2 separate regions of the Homo sapiens genome follow, and region 1 is linked to region 2. The links are contacts of gene promoters, found by promoter capture Hi-C in blood cells and fetal thymus (Javierre and others, 2016). All regions are on one chromosome and are shown on one strand. Each heading gives the region's core, a stretch centred on a gene start or on the middle of the fragment in contact. The rest is flanking DNA. Distances are from core to core; before and after follow the strand shown.

Region 1 (5,322 bases), core at 136-2,635, 70 kb after region 2:
TCCTCCCCAAAGACTGCTCTTGGAGGGTCGGATACTGAGTTTCTGAGTTTGGAGGCGGGGAAGGTGGACCTGCGGGAACCCTGAAGCGCTGCAGAGGAAGGGGGTGGGCCTCGGACGGGCCGTGGAGCCTGGGCCTCGTCTCACCGGGTTCTTCATGAGCCGCTCCAGCTTGAGCTTCTGCTCCTCCGCCGCATTCTTGGGGATGACGAGCGTCTGCGGCTCTTTCTTGGGCCTCGGTGGTCGCACCGAGGAGGCGGCTGGGCTAGCCATGGCAGCCTTCCAGTTTCACAAGCGAGCGGCGGCGTCGGCGCGCAAGTATGACGACACAGCCGCGCGCCGGCGACGCATACGCAGTCTCCGCAGAGGGGAACGGAGGCGGGGTTGCAAGGCGCAAGCAGCCTGCTGAATATTCATGAGCCTGAGGCTGGCGTGGGTTATTGTGTTCAAAGCTGCGGGGTTTCATTTCCTGTTCCTGAACAACAAATCAGTGCAGCTAGATGCTCACGTCCCTGAAGGGGAGGTGGCCCTCCGTGCCTGAGTAGCCTGGCCCTAGCCGACCTCTCCAGTCCCCGCGGGCGTCTTCGTGCCACCGAGCAGCCCCGCTGATGCTCTCGGCACCTCCTCCCCGTCGGCTCTCCTCGCCTCCCGGCTTTGTCCGGGCACTTCCTTGGATCTGGTGCCCCCTCCTCCATTTCTGACAATCTCCTGTTTACATAAGACAGCGCAAACATGTCACTGAGCTTCCTGAAGACTGGGACATTCCTCCTTTGTCCGCCTTGAATTACTCTATACCTGGCCCCCCGCAAATACACCTCTGCCAATGAATGACCGTCTCGTAGTGTGAGGCACAGTAATAAACCTAAGGAACCATGTCTGCTCATTCTGCTTGCGAGCAGGATTTCACAAAGGCCGTGACTCGGTGACTGAGCGCAGCCCTCTCCAATAACGCCCTGAACAATAAGCTGGGAAGAGCGAGAGAGAACACAGGTTTCCACCTCTCTTGCCTGAACACTGCATTTTTAGAAAAGACAAGTTCAATGATCCTAGCCCCTGCCTCTTCCTGTACATAATCTCTGACGGGATTAATGATTATGCTTCTATAACTTTTTTTTTTTTTTTAGAGACAGGGTCTCGCTTGGTTGCCCAGGCTGGAGTGCAGGGGCTCGATCATAGGTCACTGCTGCCTTGAACTCCCGGGTTCAGGCACTCCTCCCACCTCAGCCTCCTGAGTAGCTGAGACTACAGGCGCATGCCACCACACCCAGTTAATTTTTTATTTTTATTTTTTGCAGAGACAAGGTGTTGCTGTGATGCCCAGGCTGGTCTTGAACTCCTGGGCTCAAGCGATCCTCCTGCCTGGGCCTCCGAAAGTGCTGAAATTATAGGTGTTAAGTCACCATGCCCAGCCAAGCCTCTGTAATCTGTAACTAGATAATACCCTCACACACAGCCTTGATGAAATTTTGCTCTATTGTTAACTTCTGAGCACATTAGATATAACTTTTTTTTTTTTTTTTTGAGACAGAGTCTCACTCTGTCCCCCAGGCTAGAGCTCAGTGATGCAATCTCGGCTGACTGCAGCCTCTGCCTCCCAGGTTCAAGTGATCCTCCTGCTTCAGTCTCCTGAGTAGCTGGGAATACAGGTGCACGCCACCACGCCTGGCTAATTATTGTATTTTTAGTAGAGATGGAGTTTCACCATGTTGGCCAGGCTTGTCTCGAACTCCTGACATCAGGTGATCCACCCGCCTCAGCCTCCCAAAGTGCTGGGATTATAGGCATGAGCCACCACGCCCAGCTTGATATAACTTCTGAGCACATGCAGGGCACCACCAACTGTATATAAATGTTTTTATATAAACTGTATATAAATATAAATATATAAATGTGTGCTGAAACTCTGTTTTGGAGCAGTTTAACAAACTCTGTGAAAGACTTTCCCTGGTTACAGTCCTCAGTAAGATTGCAAAAAACCAACCTTAATTTTTTAAAAGCCTGATTTTTTGTTTAGTTGACATTGAGAAACAGAAAAGGCCCGGCATGGTGGCTCACACGTGTAATCCCAACGTTTTGGGAGGCCGAGATGGGCAGATCACTTGAAGTCAGGAGTTTGAGACCAGCATGGCCAACATGGTGAAACCCCATCTCTATTAAAAATACAAAAATTAGCCAGGTGTGGTGGTGTGTGCCTGTAATCCCAGCTATTCAGGAGGCTGAGACAGGAGAATAGCTTGAAACTGGGAGATGGAGGTTGCTGTGAGCCAAGATCGTGCCACTGCACTCCAGCCTGGGTGACAGAGCAAGACTCTGTGTCTAAAAAAAAGAAAAAGAAAAAGAAAAAAAAATTAGAGAGAGAAAGAGAAAGAGAAAAGCTGTTGCTCACATACATTTGGTGTTACAGACCATAGGCTGTTTGGCTCCCCTTGTAATGAAACTTAACAGGGATCCAAGCAGATTTCCCAGACAAGGCATTTATTTCAGAGCTTGTGCTTGAGTGCAGGGAAGACAATGGAAGCAGAAGTGAAGGGATCCTCCAGCTGACTTGTGGAAGAGCCAGTGGGGAATTTTTTTTTTTTTTGTGAGACAGAGTGTTGCTCTGTCGCCAGGCTGGAGTGCAGTGGTGCGAACTCAGCTCACTGCACCTCCGTTTCCCAGGTTCAAGCAATTCTCCTGCCTCAGCCTCCCGAGTAGCTGGGACTACAGGTGCACGCCACCACGCCCGGCTAATTTTTTGTCTTTTAGTAGAGACAGGGTTTCACCATGTTGGCCAGGATGGTCTCAATCTCCTGACCTCATGGTTCGCCCGCCTCGGCCTCCCAAAGTGCTGGGATTACAGGCATAAGCCACTGCGCCTGGCTGGGAATTTTTTTTATTAGGCAAAGCATGGGAATTGACATCAGGGGTAGGGTATGCAGGCTGGGCTGGGCAAAGCACGTGAGGGTATGCAGGTCGCATATCTGGTTTTGAGGGTATGCAGGTCGCATATCTGGTTGCGATGGTTATCTTAAGTAATGAGTCACCTGGTAGTCTGGCTGGTGGCAACAAGGGTGTCAATCAATTGTTCAGCATTCCTTCCCGAGGTGGGACACTCCGCAAGCTTCATTTGATATTTGGATCTCCTAAGGCCAGTCTCTGGAATTCTTTTTTTTTTTTTTTTTTTTTTGAGACAGTTTCGTTCTTTATTTTCTTTGTATGACTAAAGCCTCGGGGTTAGCAGCTATATTGTCAGCGAGGCAATGGTGTGGGTTTTGTGATCAGTGGGACAAAAGAAGGAAAAAGGGAAAGGATGTGAAGGAGAAGCTCTGTCCAGTTCCTGTTCTGTTTCCCTGGGAGCTGGACAGACATTCACAGCTGGGTCTTGGTGTTCTCTTGTCAAACAAAAGTAATTTCCAGGACACCAACATCACACAAGACCATTCCGTGACCACAAAAACCTGGTGTGGTGGCTCATGCCTGTAATCCCAGCACTTTGGGAGGCCGAGGTGGGCAGATCACCTGAGGTCAGGAGTTTGAGACCAGCCTGGCCAACATGGTGAAACCCCGTCTCTACTAGAAATACAAAAAATAGCCAGGCGTGGTGGTGCACACCTGTAATCCCAGCTACTCGGGAGGCTGAGGCTGGAGAATTGCTTGAACCTGGGAGGCAGAGGTTGCAGTGAGCTAAGATTACGCCTTTGCACTCCAGCCTGGGCGACAGAGCAAGACTCTGTCTCAAAATAAATAAATAAATAAAAATAAAAATAAAAGAAACATTTGCTGGAGGGACATGGGCTCCTAGGGACAGGGTCGCCCTCCCACTGAGTCCCCAAGAGGATGAACAGGTGGACAAGTGGATGGTACCTGGAGGGTGAAGTGTTTGTTCTCCAAAGGTCATTCCTGGCTGCCCAATAGTGGGTGGTTTTCTAGGAGCTCAGGGTGGAATTAAGGGTCCTTAGTGGCCCAGGTCTGTCACTGGAACCTGGGGAGGGCTTGGCCTGGCTGGGGCCATGCACACAAACTCACCCAGGATCACACACATTAGCAACCAGTACCTCACTTTTCTCCAAACACTCCACAGAACGAAGGTTTTTGTCTACAAAACAAAGCATCTTTTCCTCCTTGGAGAACTCCCATACAGGCTTCTCAACTTGGCCAAAATGCTACCTCCTCCAAGAAGCCTTCTCAGATTGCCTCTCCCACCCCTCACTTCCAGGAAGTGAATTGCTCCCTTCTTGGTGCTCTCCCAGCTCTGAATCCCAATAACTGGTGAAGTAGTTACCACTATGTCCTCACCATCTGTGTCCCCATGGGCTTGGCAGTGTGGTGGGCTGGGCCAGAATCCCAGCATCTAACCCTGGCATGGTGTAGAGTGGGTACTTCCAGGATGCTTGGAGAATAAAGGAATGAAAACATATATGAAGACTGAATAGACGTGTCAGTGAGATGAGCAAGTGATGGATGAATGAATGAATAAGGACATTAAGAGAAAGAATGAAGACTCAATCAATAAAAGGACACTTAATAAATGAACATGTGAGGCCACGGACTATCAGAAAGCCACAGAGCCAGGAGTGCGGGGCAGTGTCTGTCCGGTTGGTAAAGGTCTCCCTGGCACCCCCAGCCTCAGTGTCTGTCACAGAGCTGGTGCTTGGCAGATATCTGCTGGATGAAAGTTAAGCGAATGAATGGAGTGAAGGAATGCATGAAGGCAAGAGAGAGTTAAGGCATGTGGGTGTGAAGGAGCTGGTAATAACTTCAGTGTCTAAGTCTGGTCTAAATTGTGGACATATTTATCAGCAGATATATGTTTTTCAATAGACGGGGTCTCACTCTGTCACCAGGCTGGAGTGCGGTGGTGCCAGTATAGCTAACTGCAGCCTCGAACTCCTGGGCTCAAGGGATCCTCCTGACTCAGTGTCCAGAAAAGCTAGGGCTACAGGCAGGTACCACTATGCCCAGCTAATTTTTCACATTTTTTGTAGACATGGGGTATTGCTATGTTTCCCAGGCTGACCTCAAGCAATTCTTCAGCCTTGGACTCCTGAGTAGCTATGACAACAGGCTGGTGCCACCACACTCAGCTAACTTTTTATTTTTATTTTTTGAGAGGGAGTTTCTCTCTTGTCACCCAGGCTGGAGTGCAATGGCGCGATCTCGGCTCACTGCAACCTCTGCCTCCCAGGTTCCAGCGATTCTCCTGCCTCAGCCTCCTGAGTAGCTGGGATTACAGGCACCCGCCACCATGCCCGGCTAATTTTTGTATTTTTAGTAGAGACAGGGTTTCGTCATGTTGGCCAGGCTGGCCCCGAACTCCTGATCTCAGGTGATCCACCCGCCTCAGCT
Region 2 (4,824 bases), core at 1-2,500:
GAGCCTGAGCCCAACAGAGTCCTGGCCCCAGGTATGAAGCTGGTGGGAGGCTCCCACTTACCGTCAGGAAGGGGTTGCCCTCCAGGCTGAGTTCCTCGAGCTTGGGGAACTGGCACAAGGCAGTAACATCCCCCAGCTGGTTGTTGGCGCAGCGGAGGACACGCAGGTGGGACAGGCCCAGGTTGTCCGGCAGCGTCTCCAGGTGGTTGTTAGACAGGTCAAGCTCCTGCAGCTGCGTCAGGCGGCACAGGAGTTTGGGGTCCAGGTGCTCGGAAAGCAGCTCCAATCCTGACAGGCTGGAGTTGGGGGCAGAAGGCTTAGGGGGCGGGCAGGCTTTGCACCCTACACCAATCTGCCCCGGGTACCTCAGAAGGCTTTTTCACCTGACATTTCTCGTACAAGTGTAGCCGCCCCGCCCATCCCCCCGTTACTTTATTTTTAGAGACGGGGTGTCACTCAGTCGCCTAGGCGCGATCATAGCTCACAGCTGCCTCCAACTCCTGGGCTGAGGGATCCTCCCGCCTCAGCCTCTCGAGTAGCTGGGACTAGAAGCGCGCGCCACTACTCCCGACTCCACACCACTTAACAAAAAAAAAAAAAAAAAAAAAAAAAAAAAAAAAAAAGCTGCAACTACTTTAGGACTCGGGGGCATCCTAGCCCCCTCTAGGATGCTCTTCCTGATCCTTCGGGGGCTCGTCTGTGCTTCCCAGGCCCTCTAACGATAGCGGCAGGCTGTGCCCCTAACTGTCCGGGCTCCCTTCAGGGGATGAGGCCCCTCGGGGCTCCCGGCGAGCGGGTGGGGCCACGATCTCCCAACAAGAAGACATTTGGACCACTCTGCCGAACCCAGAGGGCGATAACGGGGACAAGCGGGCCGTTGGGGAGGGTCCCCGCTCTTCTCCCCGACCGCCCGGCCCCGAGGACACAGCCTCACCCGCTGCCCGGCTCTTACTCCAGACTCCGGATCTTCCCCAGCCGGTCGCTCTTGGGGCGCCCGCGCTGCATTAGCAGCCGCGCCGAGAGGGGGCCCATGGCGAGGAGGCGCAGCCCGCGCTGACCCAGTCGGCCACCCCGGCGTGTGGCGTCGCCCTGCGTCTCCTGGAGCCCGGCACTGGCGTCCGCGGTAACTGAGCCCAGGAGGCGGCGCCGCGCGAGCCCGTGGGCGTTAACGACCGGAAGGAAGCGGAACCCAGGCCTCGTGCCCCCGCCCGGCGCGGACTACAACTCCCAGCGGCCCCCACGGCCGCGCCTGCGCACTGGCCACGCGGACGGCGCGATGGCGGCGGCTGCCGCCGAGACCCCCGAAGTCCTTCGGGAATGCGGTTGCAAGGGCATCCGGACCTGTCTGATCTGCGAGCGGCAGCGCGGCAGTGACCCGCCCTGGGAGCTGCCCCCAGCGGTAAGGGGTGGGAGAGGGGCCGCGCCCACAAACGTCGCTCTGCATCTGGGGAAACTGAGGTCCAGCTTGGCCATGATAGGGGCCGGGATCGAAGCCTGTGAGGGACCCTTACGGTAGGGGTGATGCAGGGTGAGGAGATGAGGGCTTTAAGGAGCGGGCTTGGGAGTGGGGAAGGAGCTGGAACGTGGGTGGGTTCGATTACAGGTCACCTCGGGGACTCTGGGGGGATCTGCCTGTAAACCTCGACGTAGCCTCTCGGGTCTGGCGCTGGGAGCTTCACGGGCCTGCAGGGAGATGACACGGAAAGGGTCGATCGAGGGTGCTGAATACCAGTCCAACGGTGCCTGAAGGCCGTGGACTGCAATGGGCAAGGAGACAGTGAATTCCAGTTAACTAACGAAAAGGAACTCAAGGATCGCTGCAACCCAGGAGCTGGAGGCTGCAGTGAGCTATGATCGAGCCACCTCACTTCAGCCTGGGCGACAGAGCGAGACTCTGTCTCACAAAAAGAAAATAAATAAAAAAAGAAAAAGAACTCAGCGCCTTTGGGCTGGCATGGAAGGACTGTGGTTGGTTGCAAGGGCATTCCAACCCAGAAAACTGCGTGGGGTAGGAAGGTGGATTGGTGATGCCTCAGGTGAGAGAGATGAGGCTGGAGAGGTTGTGGGGGGGGGGAGGTCTGATCACAGATGCTCCCCGGTGCATCAGCTGAGCAGGCTGGACTTGTCCCAAAGGCCCTGGAGAGCTCTTGAAGGGTTTTAAAGGAGTGATGAAGTCAAATGTGAATTTTAGAAAGATCCTGGGAAGGGAACGGGCAGATATGAAGGTGTGGAGGCTGGTAAGCCAGTGAAGACTGCCCCAACGTCCATGGTAAAAGTGCCCAAGGTCCTATGGAAACAGCATGGCATGCCTCATGAATTAAACATAGAATTACCCATGATCCGCAATCCTGCTTCTGGGTATATATCCAAAGGAACTAAAAGCAGGGTCTGGAAGAGATATTTGCACACCCATGTTCATATTCACGACATTATTCATGACAGCCCAAAGATGGAAGCAAACCAAGCATCTATCAAGATACCTGGGCCGGGTTCAGTGGCTCACGCCTGTAATCCCAGCACTTTGGGAGGCTGAGGTGGGCAGATCACCTGAGGTCAGGAGTTTGAGACCTGCCTGGCTAACATGGCGAAACCCTGCCTCTACTAAAATTACAAAAACTTGCCGGGCTTGGTGAGGCACATCTGTAATCCCAGCTACTCGGGAGGCTGAGGCAGGAGAATCGCTTGAACCCAGGAGGCAGAGGTTGCAGTGAGCCAAGATCGCACCACTGCACTCCAGCTCAGGTGACAGAGCAAGACTCCTTCTCAAAAAAAAAAAAAAAAAAAAAAAAAGAGATGACTTGATCCACAAAATGTGGTGCATACACATAGTAGAATACTATTCAGCCTTAAAAAGGAAGGACAGGCCGGGCACAGTGGCTCACACCTGTAATTCCAGCACTTTGGGAGACCGAGGCAGGCAGATTGCCAGAGCCCAGGAGTTTGAGACCAGCATGGGCAACATGGTGAAATCCCACCTCTACAAAAAAATTAACCATACATGGTGACACGTACCTGTAGTCCCAGCTACCCAGGAGGCTGAGGTGGGAGGGTTGCTTGAGCCTGGGAGGTCAAGGCTGCAGTGAGCTGTGATCACGCCACTGCACTCCAGCTTGGGCAACATAGTGAGACCCTGTCTCAAAAAAAAAAAAAAAAAAAAGGACATTTTGACATATGTTACAGCATGGACGAACCTTGGGGACACGATGCTAAGTTAAGGAAGCAGTCACAGAAGACAAATACTGCATGATTCCTGTTGTGTGAGCTACGTAGGGTAGTCACAGGGACAGAAAGTAGAAGGGTTGTTGCCAAGGGCTCAGGAAGGGGAGATGGGGACCTGTTGTTTAATAGGGAAAGAGTTTCAGTTTTGCAAGATGAAAAAGTTCTGAATGGTGGTGACGGCTGTACAACAATATGAATGAACTTAAGAGTTTTAATTTGTGGAAGGGGCCAGGTGCGGTGGCTCATGCCTATAATCCCAGCCCTTTGGGAGGCTGAGGCAGGAGGCTCGCCTGAGTCTAGGAGTTTGAGACCAGCTTGGACAACATAGCAAGACCCTGTCTCTACAAAAAATTTAAAAATTAGCTAGGTGTGGTGGTGTGTGCTTGTAGTCCCAGTTACTTGGGAGGCTGAGGTGGGAGGATTGCCTGAGCCCAGGAGGTCAAGGCTGCAGTGAGCTGTGAGCGCCACTACACTCCAGCCTGAGTGACAGAGCGAGACCCTGCCTCAAACAAAAAAAAAGAAAAGAAAAAAATTGCGGAAAGTCTGACCCGTTCCAGTGGCCATGTGGAGGTGACATCTTCCCAACCCGATGGCTATGGAACAAGGAGAGTGAGGTATCCAGGATCTCAGGGCACTGGGGCAGTTCCTCACTGGCTTTCCAGCCTCCACCCTTCATATCTGCCCCTCCCCCCTCCAGATCTTTCTAAAATTCACATTTGACCTCGTCACTCCTTTAAAACCCTTCAAGAGCGCTCCATGGCCTTTCGGACAAGTCCAGCCTGCTCAGCCGACACACGGGGGACTCCCAGTTTTAATGTTTCCCGTGGGAGGGCCCCAGGAGCAGGAGGAGATAGTGCCAATCTCAGGAGGGGTCTGAGCTGGAGTCGGTGGCTGGAAGTAAAGCATTGGAAGGGGCTGAGGTCCCTGGAGGGAAGAACAGAGAAAGACAGCGGCCCACAGTGAGTGGCAGCCCAGGGTGTGAGGAGCCTGGAGATGGAAGAGGAAGAGGAGACAGGCCACAGAGCCCAGGGCTGAGTTCTGGTGGCCTCCGAAGTCCTCACTGGGTGACTCCGGCCAGAACCTCCACACCTCCTGCCCATGATAGTTATGGTACCTTCCTCTTGGGGCTGTCCTGGGGATGAAACTAGATAATCCATGTAAAATGTTCAGTGCCACAGATGCAAATACTGGCTATTTCATTGGCGAAACTCTTTTTTAAAAATTTACTATTGGCTGGGCATGGTGGTTCACGCCTGTAATCCCAGCACTTTGGGAGGCCAAGGCGGGAGGATCACAAGGTCAGGAGTTCAAGACCATCCTGGTCAACATGGTGAAACCTCGTCTCTACTAAAATACAAGAAAAAAATTAGCTGGGCATGGTGGCGCGCACCTGTAGTCCCAGCTACTCGGGAGGTTGAGGCAGGAGAATCGCTTGAACCCAGGAGGTAGAGGTTGCAGTGAGCCGAGATCGTGCCACTGCACTCCAGTTCTGGTGACAGAGCGAGACTCCATCTCAAACAAACAAACAAACAAACAAAAAGTATTATTATTATTTTCAAGATGGGGTCTCACTGTGTCACCCAGGCTGGTGTCCACTAGCACGAT

What was found. Contacts are between HindIII fragments. The CHiCAGO score rates a contact against its expected background, and 5 or more counts as called.
Region 1: a fragment that was not itself captured here is called in contact with the fragment with the promoter of ALKBH4 in region 2 in 7 of 17 cell types (total B cells, naive B cells, total CD8 T cells and 4 more); the score reaches 8.6 in total B cells.

The regions. Positions count from the first base shown.
Region 1 is chr7:102,391,360-102,396,681 of GRCh38, reverse strand. PRKRIP1 (PRKR interacting protein 1) reads right to left here and starts at 319. Exons shown (of 6, transcript NM_024653.4): 1 at 145-319. The coding sequence starts at 270. All of the region lies in intron 4 of LOC100630923 (LOC100289561-PRKRIP1 readthrough), which reads right to left. RefSeq lists enhancers at 1-342, 124-363 and a silencer at 384-463. The HindIII fragment of the contact is 3,429 bases long and covers 1-3,099 here.
Region 2 is chr7:102,461,289-102,466,112 of GRCh38, reverse strand. It overlaps ALKBH4 (alkB homolog 4, lysine demethylase), which reads left to right and starts at 1,250. Exons shown (of 3, transcript NM_017621.4): 1 at 1,250-1,399. The coding sequence starts at 1,277. It overlaps LRWD1 (leucine rich repeats and WD repeat domain containing 1), which reads right to left and starts at 1,129. Exons shown (of 15, transcript NM_152892.3): 1 at 953-1,129; 2 at 62-296. The coding sequence starts at 1,032. MIR5090 (microRNA 5090) reads right to left here and starts at 371; the gene lies at 287-371. RefSeq lists enhancers at 1-201, 479-578, 202-728, 858-1,507 and a silencer at 919-1,348. The HindIII fragment of the contact is 18,940 bases long and covers 1-4,824 here.